Linked DNA regions of Homo sapiens: region 1 is linked to region 2. The links are contacts of gene promoters, found by promoter capture Hi-C in human tissues and cell types (Jung and others, 2019). All regions are on one chromosome and are shown on one strand. The core of a region is centred on a gene start or on the middle of the fragment in contact, and the rest is flanking DNA. Distances in the headings are between cores, read along the strand shown. Region 1 holds the start of CRTC1 (CREB regulated transcription coactivator 1). Region 2 holds the start of LSM4 (LSM4 homolog, U6 small nuclear RNA and mRNA degradation associated).

Region 1 (3,438 bases), core at 845-3,344, 360 kb after region 2:
TTTGGGAGGCTGAGGCGGGCGGATCACCTGAGGTCAGAAGTTCAAGACCAGCCTGGCCAACACGGTGAAACCCTGTCTCTACTAAAAATACAAAAAGTAGCCGGGTGTGGTGGTGGGTTCCTGTAATTCCAGCTACTTGGGAGGCTGAGGCAGGAGAATCACTTAAACCCCAGAGGCAGAGGTTGCAGTGAGCTGAGTCTGTGCCACTGCACTCCAGCCTGGGAAACAGAGACTCCGTCTCAAAAAAAAAAAAAAAAAAAAAATCCCATAAAAATTAGCTGAGCATCATGGTGCATGCCTGTAATCCCAGCTACTTGGGAGGCTGAGGTAGGAGAATCGCTTGAACCTGAGAGGCAGAGATTGCAGTGAGCCAAGGTTGCGCCACTGCACTCTAGCCTGGGCGACAGAGTGAGACTCTGTCTCAAAACAAAGATAAAGTAGGGCAGTGGCAATATCCAAGGCATTCTAAATGAAAATCGATATATATATATATATATTTAACATGAGCATTTTATTACCTGTTGTAAAGCATGAATCAAAGCATGTTTGGAAGATGTCAGCATCCCCTCCAGCCATCCTCAGTCCAATAAAATGTGTGCTTGTTGTGCCATTAGAGCCATCATCAATTCCCCCAGCTGACCTTCCTAGCTTCCACCCAGCCCATACTCTGAAATCCCTGCAGCCTCCTGAATATAAACTTTCAATATTGGTGGTTGGGGGTCCCTCTCTTGAGGGAGGGAGGGTTAGAGTCCCTCCTGCTTCCCTGGCTTACCACTCTGCCATCGGGGGAGTCTCTGCTCCTTCCTTCACTGCTGAGTCTTGATGGGATTTCTGGACCCTTCTGTTAGCACCTTGTTGCAAAATAGAGATCCTTGAACAAGACTGGACTGGAGAAGTATGCAGAGGGAAGGCTGAAGCTCTGTAACTCCAGTTCTTTGGGCTCAGGTATCCAGAGAATAGCAATATGCCCATTGCAAGGGAATGGGAAAAAGTAGTCGTCGGCTGGACATGGTGGCTCACGCCTGTAATCCCAGCACTTAGGGAGGGCGAGGCGGGTGGATCACCTGCTGTCAGGAGTTCAAGACCAGCCTGGCCAACATGGTCTTTAGTCTCTACTGAAAATAAAAAAATTAGCTGGGCGTGGTGGCGCCTGCCTGTAATCCTAGCTACTGGAGAGGCTGAGGCAGGAGAATGGCTTGAACCTGGGAGGAGGAGGTTGCAGTGAGCCGAGATCGCACCACTGCATTCCAGTCTGGGCGACAAGGGCAAAACTCGGTCTCAAGGGAAAAAAAAAAAAAAAAAAGAAAGTCGTTAAGGGCAACAGCTAGGTTTATGGACTGAGAGAGCCGATTGCAGGGTTCAGGTCTTAGCTAAGATAACTTTCCGCCTCCCTGTCTGTGGTGGCTGCAGGAGCCTCCCTCCCTAATGTTCTGTGGCTGGCCACTGGTCTTATTTACCGCATCACATTTACCTCCATCTGAAAAGTTCTTGGTTATTTGTGTGCTATGTCTGCCCCCTCTCTGACTGTACACTCCATAAGGGCAGGGATCACCTCTGCTTGTTCACGCCTGTACTCCAGTTTGCCTGGCACATAGTAGGTGCTCAGTAAATATTCCTTGAATGAATGAATGCATGAGTGACCAACGCCCTAGTCTGTTTTCAGAGCTCTTAGTCCAAACCCAGGTTCAACTTGGGGTGCCACCAATCCTTGCGGGGGGGGGTGCCTGGCCCCACCCTTGTGAATTGGGAGGATCTGGGTCAGGCCGTCTCCCTCTTGGGGGCTCCAGTGCCCCAGCCGATCCGCGGTCCTTGTCCAACAGCCCAGAGGCCGCTGTCCAGCGGGCCAGGAGGCGGATCACTGCGTCGGCGTTGAAATTTCCACTCGCGCTCCACCGCCCTTCCCGCGGGCCCCGAGCGCGCGCCTGGGCGCGCGCATGCGCCTTCGCCCCCGCGCCGCGCGCCGCTCCTGTGCGCCTGCGCCGCGCTCACGACCGCCGGCGCGCCTGCGCACTGCTCGCCGCCCGTGGGCCCAGCCGGCGCTTGCGCGGTGGCACGGGCGAGTGGGGGGGCGAGGAGGTGGAGGAGGAGGAGGAGGAGGAGGAGGTGGCGGCGAGAAGATGGCGACTTCGAACAATCCGCGGAAATTCAGCGAGAAGATCGCGCTGCACAATCAGAAGCAGGCGGAGGAGACGGCGGCCTTCGAGGAGGTCATGAAGGACCTGAGCCTGACGCGGGCCGCGCGGGTAAGGGGGCTGCCCGCGCCGACCCTTCAGGGCCGGCGGAGGGAGGGAGGGGGCGCGTGTCCGGCGCGTGCACGGGGCGGGGTGGGGGGGGGCGCGGCGGGGGCGGGGCGCGCGCGGCGGGGGCGGGGCTTGGCACGGCCCGAGGGGGACAGGTGTCCCCACGCCCCGGGCGTCGTGGGCGGGACAGGTGACCCCACAAAATCCATACCTGATGGGGTACAGGTGCCCTGCATCACTGCTCCCCGGAGGAGACAGGGGCCTCTATATCATTACTACTAGGAGGGAACAGGTGCTAGTACCTCGTCGTTACCTGACAGGGGACAGGTGTCCCTACATCATTGTTACCCGAGGGGGACAGGTGCCCCACATTATTACTACCTGGAAGGGACAGGTGCCCCCGCATCATTGCTACCTGGGGGGGCAGGATGACACAGGTGTATGAGCTGGGTGCTGCTTGCAAGCACCATTGGTAGCTGGGGGTGAGGGTGCAAGTGCCCCCGCATCCTTGCTACCTGGGAGGGACAGATGCCCTCCCATTCTTGCTACCTGAGGGGGACCGGTGTCTCTACGTCATGGTTACCTGTGCCTTTACTCCCTGGGTGTTGGGGGAGGAACGGATGTCCCCACTTGCAGAGCTGAGGTGGGACAGGGATCTCTCCCTCTTGGACAGCTGAGGGAATGGTCAGATCCTGTCCCCCAGGGGGTCCAGAGGGGGGCCAAGAAGGCAGATTGTGCTCAGTCCTGGAACTTGGAGTGGAGACAGCTGCCCCTTCTCCATGTAGCCCATATGGTGGGGGCCAGGTGATGTTCCTCCCAGTGGAACAGGGGATGCTGACCACAGCCCCTGCCCTCTCAGGACCAGGGTGGAGGGCCAGGTCTGCCTCAGGTGGCTGGGCGCATTTGGTGTGCAGGGGCAGGCCAGGTTCTGCCAGGCTCCTGTCTGGCAGAGCAGATACCCTGCAAATCTCACCTGGGAAGTTGCTGTGGGCCAGGAGCAGGGGCTTGGGGCTGGTGTCTGAGCACGGCAAGGCACCCGAGTTCCTCAGGCCTCAGTTTCTTGTCAGGCATTCTAGCAAGACCTTCCTCTTGGGGCAGGGTGGTGAGCACACTCTGCAAAGGTGATGCTGAATCTCCACTTTGTTCTTGCAGTGTGGTGAGACCTCTCTCCTGCATCCTGGGGCCTTGGGGAGGGTTT
Region 2 (3,926 bases), core at 1,383-3,882:
AGGCTGTAGTGATTGTGCCACTGCACTCCAGCCTGGATGAGAGTGAGATCTCAGCTCTGAAAAACAAAAAAAGTCTAGAGTGCAGTGGCTCACGCCTGTAATCCCAGCACTTTGAGAGGCCGAGGTGGGTGGATCACCTGAGCTCAGGGGTTCAAGACTAGCCTGGCCAACATAGTGAAACCTGATCTCTACTGAAAATACAAAAATTATCCAGGTGTGGTGGTGCGTGCCTGTAATCACAGCTACTTGGGAGGCTGAGGTAGGAGAATCACTCTCGGAGAGGTGGAGGTTGCAGTGAGCTGAGATTACACCACTGCACTTCAGCCTGGGCGACAGAACAAGACTCTGTCTCAAAAAAATAAATAAAATGAAATAGAAAAAGAAAAAAAGTGCCAAGTGTGATAGGAGAGGCCCCACCCTGGTTTATGGAAGGTCACAAGAAAATTCAGAAAAGAGAATTCCTTTCTCTGGGCTTTCTTGGAGCATCTGGAATCTGGTTCTCAGGTCTAGATCCACGAGGACCTAAACCCAGTGCCTCCTAATTCAGGAAGCTGTCCAGGACTGCCCATCCCCGCTGCTAACCTAGGCCACTCCTTCTGGCCCTGCCCTGACGACAGGGAACTGGAAGTGTGTATCCTGTGATGGCTTGTCCATTCTCGGCTACTCCTCCAGGAAACAGCTGGACAGCCAGGACTCTGGATGTTCAGAAGGTGGGAAGGGGCTGAATGAATGAGTTCACACTTTGCCCACGCACCGTTCTACATACTGGGAATCTAGTCGGAAGAAAAACGAAGATCCTGCTCCCACAAAACTTAACACAGGGATGGATCCTTCCAGCTCTGCCCAGTCTTACATGCCAACTCTGCCCTCTAAGTACACCGCAGAGAGGGACAGGCTCTCTGAATCCTTGCACTTGAAATCGCCTTTGCAAAAATTGTAGCGGGAAATTATGACAGTGAAAAGAGATCAGACCTAACCGACTCCATTGTGCTTCTAACCTTTACGCCATCTTTGCTTATTCCTAGGTATAGGCCAAACTAACCTTGGGAAGGGATTTAGTTTATAGTTTGACTCTGGAACAAAATTGGTAATAGCCCTTTCCCGAAAAGACCCTCTTCTTGCCTGGGGACCAGTCTGCCTTTGTAGGACTAACAAATAAGCTACAAGATTAGAAATTACCATTTAGGTAACTTCAGCCTCTGGCTGCAAGAGTCTGAAACTCCCCAAATTGCTCCTTGGGATAACATCACTATTATAAAATCTAAGATCAGTGCTTGAGATATTTTGCAGACCCCGTACTTGACGGATCAGCTGACACTACCCAGACCAGTAATCTGGCTCAACCAGTCCTGCGATCCCACCCAGGAACAGAAGACAGCAAGAAAACCTCACTTCAACACTCCCGTCGATGACTCCATCGACCTCAGGAAGCTCCAACCAATCAGCACTCCCCACTTCCTGAGCCCCTACCCGCCAAATTATCTTTCAAAACTCGGATCCCCTAATGCTCAGCGGAGACTGATTTGAGCAATAATAAAACTCTGGTCTCCTGCATAGCTGGCTCTGTGTGAAATACTCTTTCTCCACTGCAATTCCCCTGTCTTGATAAATCTGTCTAGGAAGACAGGCAAGGTGAACCCATTGGGTGGTTACACACTGACCAGCCGGATTTAGGGAGAGTTCTCACTAATCCACAGTTCTGATGCAGCCACCCCTGGGGGACCCTCCTGGTTACTGAATCTCCCACTGTCTCACAGAGTCTGGAAGTCACATCCCCAACAAGGGCCTTGGTTTCTCTCATTGAAAAAAGAAGGACCAGAAGCTGATGGGCCAGGAAACTCCCAGCTCTGAATTCCTTTTCCGATCTGCACAGTGGGGGACACGGGCACTTTCTAGCCCAGATCCAGAACTTCCAGAATCATAAACAATGGGCCCTGCAGAGACCTGGGCCGCAATTTTTCCTTCTTTGTATTGGGAGGATGTACTTTGTCCACCCCTAGCTCAAAACGCCCCCTTCCGCTGGAATGACATGCTATGTGACCCAAGGAGAAACACCACACCCCAGCACCAGGCCTGCTTTTCAGCCAGAAACCAAGAGGCCTAGGAGGCTGTGCTGCTAGCATCTTGCAAGCTCTGAAATTCCTAAAACTAAGTTTCACAACTCAGACTGGCCCCCTACTTCCCAGCACTCTAGTTTTCAATCAGGGAGGTCAGACTGGGCCCGAAGCGTAAGGGACCCCTTCCCTGCCCAAAAACTCTCTGCTGCATTTGGCGGATCCCCACCTTTTTTTTTTTTACTTCAGTTTCCCCACCTGCAAACTGGGAAAACTAACTAAGGCGAGGCCACTGTACTGTGGATACAAGTCCGTGCAACCCTAAATCCCAGACACGAACGTGATAGAGCCACCTGCAGTCTCCGGCCTCAGTTTCCCAGCCTCGTGCCGGGGGGCGGGACTCGAGGCTCGGACCTTACGTTCGCCCCGCGCCAACCAAGCCCACAGCGCCCGCCCGCAGGGATCCCAACGACTGCTGTTCCCGCCTCCCGGTGAGACCCCGCAGTTGCCCTGCCCTCACCATGGTGCCGGCGGGGACCGGGCTCGCCGGCCACTTCCGCCGCCGCCGCTGCACACGCTCCCGGCGGTCGTCGCCGCGCCGCGCGCCACTAAGCTGAAAGAAAGTGGCAGAGACGCAAGCCAGTCAGCACCGGGCTCGAAGGGCGGTCAACCAATCCACGCGGAGTAGGGCGGGGCCCGCTGGGCGAAAGGGCGGGGCGGGCCGTGTTCCCGCCGGAGGAACGAGGACGAGAGCCGTAAAGTGCCGCGGCTTGTAATGCAAAAGGAGGCGGAGCAACGCGCGCCGGCGCGGGGTGCATTGTGAGGAAATGCGTGCGCAGGTGAAACCTTCGTCGGTCTCCTGGGCTCCACGCTGTGGGCAAAGCCAGTTAATGCCTTTCGTTTGCAGTAGAGAGAGAGAAATCGAGGCTTCGTGGTGATTGGGCCGTGCCTGATGTTGCCCTTCCGACTCCTAGTTTTCTGATTCTGTAATTATCCAGGGAACATCATTTAATAGGTTGGAATCCTGACCACGACCCTCGGGGCCTCAGTTTGCTCCCTGTAAATAGTAGTGTCTGCTCCAAAACGTTGCTTACTGTAAGGATGAAATGAATGAAACCATGTAAAAGCACTTAAAACAGCGTCTGGCACATATTAAGTACTTATTACCTACTCTGTGCCTGTTTCTGCTCACAGAATGAACAAAACACAAAATTCGTGGCCCTCAGGGAGACAGACAGTAAACAAAGTAAATAGGCGAATGCTATTAGTTTTCTGGGGCCTGCTGTAACAAATGCCCACACACTGCGAGGTTTAAAACAACAGAACGTGATTTTCTCACAATTCAAGAGATCAGAATAATGAAGTGAGGTTGTCAGCACAGTTGGCTCCCTCTGGAGGCTCTGAGGACAATCTGTGTGTCCTATGCCTCTCTCCTGGGTTCTGGTGGCTGCTGGGAATCCTTGGAGTTCTTGGCTTGTAGATGCAGCCTTCCGCGTTCTGCCTTTGTCGTCACTTGGCCTTCTCTGTGTGTCTCTGAGTCTCAAATGTATCTCTCCTTTTTTTTTTCTTTTTTTTTTTTGTAGTAGAGACAGGGTCTCCCTATGTTGTCCAGGCTGGTCTCGAACTCCTGGGGTCAAGCAATCCTCCCTCCTCTGCCTCCCAAAGTGCTGGGATTACAGGCGTGAGCCACCGAGCCCGGCCGCTCCTTTTTCTTGTAAAGGACACTCCTTTCTCTTATTAAGTCCACCATAAATTTCAGGATAATGTCATCTCAAGATCCTTAATTACATCTGCGAAGACCCTGTTCTTTTTTTTTTGAGATGGAGTCTCATTCTATCACCCAGGCTGCAGTGCAGTGGTGCGATCTCAGCT

Evidence for each region. The method cuts DNA at HindIII sites, captures the fragments that hold promoters and counts their contacts. A contact is called where the count stands out against the background at its distance.
Region 1: a contact is called between the fragment with the promoter of CRTC1 here and the fragment with the promoter of LSM4 in region 2, in 1 of the 25 tissues and cell types used here (dorsolateral prefrontal cortex).

Annotation. Positions count from the first base shown.
Region 1 is chr19:18,681,586-18,685,023 of GRCh38, forward strand. CRTC1 (CREB regulated transcription coactivator 1) reads left to right here and starts at 2,095. Exons shown (of 14, transcript NM_015321.3): 1 at 2,095-2,243. The coding sequence starts at 2,118. RefSeq lists an enhancer at 1,485-1,784 and a silencer at 1,995-2,084. The HindIII fragment of the contact is 17,160 bases long and covers 1-3,438 here.
Region 2 is chr19:18,320,444-18,324,369 of GRCh38, forward strand. It overlaps LSM4 (LSM4 homolog, U6 small nuclear RNA and mRNA degradation associated), which reads right to left and starts at 2,633. Exons shown (of 5, transcript NM_012321.5): 1 at 2,575-2,633. The coding sequence starts at 2,577. LOC105372300 (a long non-coding RNA gene) reads left to right here. Exons shown (of 2, transcript XR_007067157.1): 2 at 1,291-1,554. RefSeq lists a silencer at 2,514-2,693 and enhancers at 2,754-2,973, 3,172-3,774. The HindIII fragment of the contact is 25,574 bases long and covers 1-3,926 here.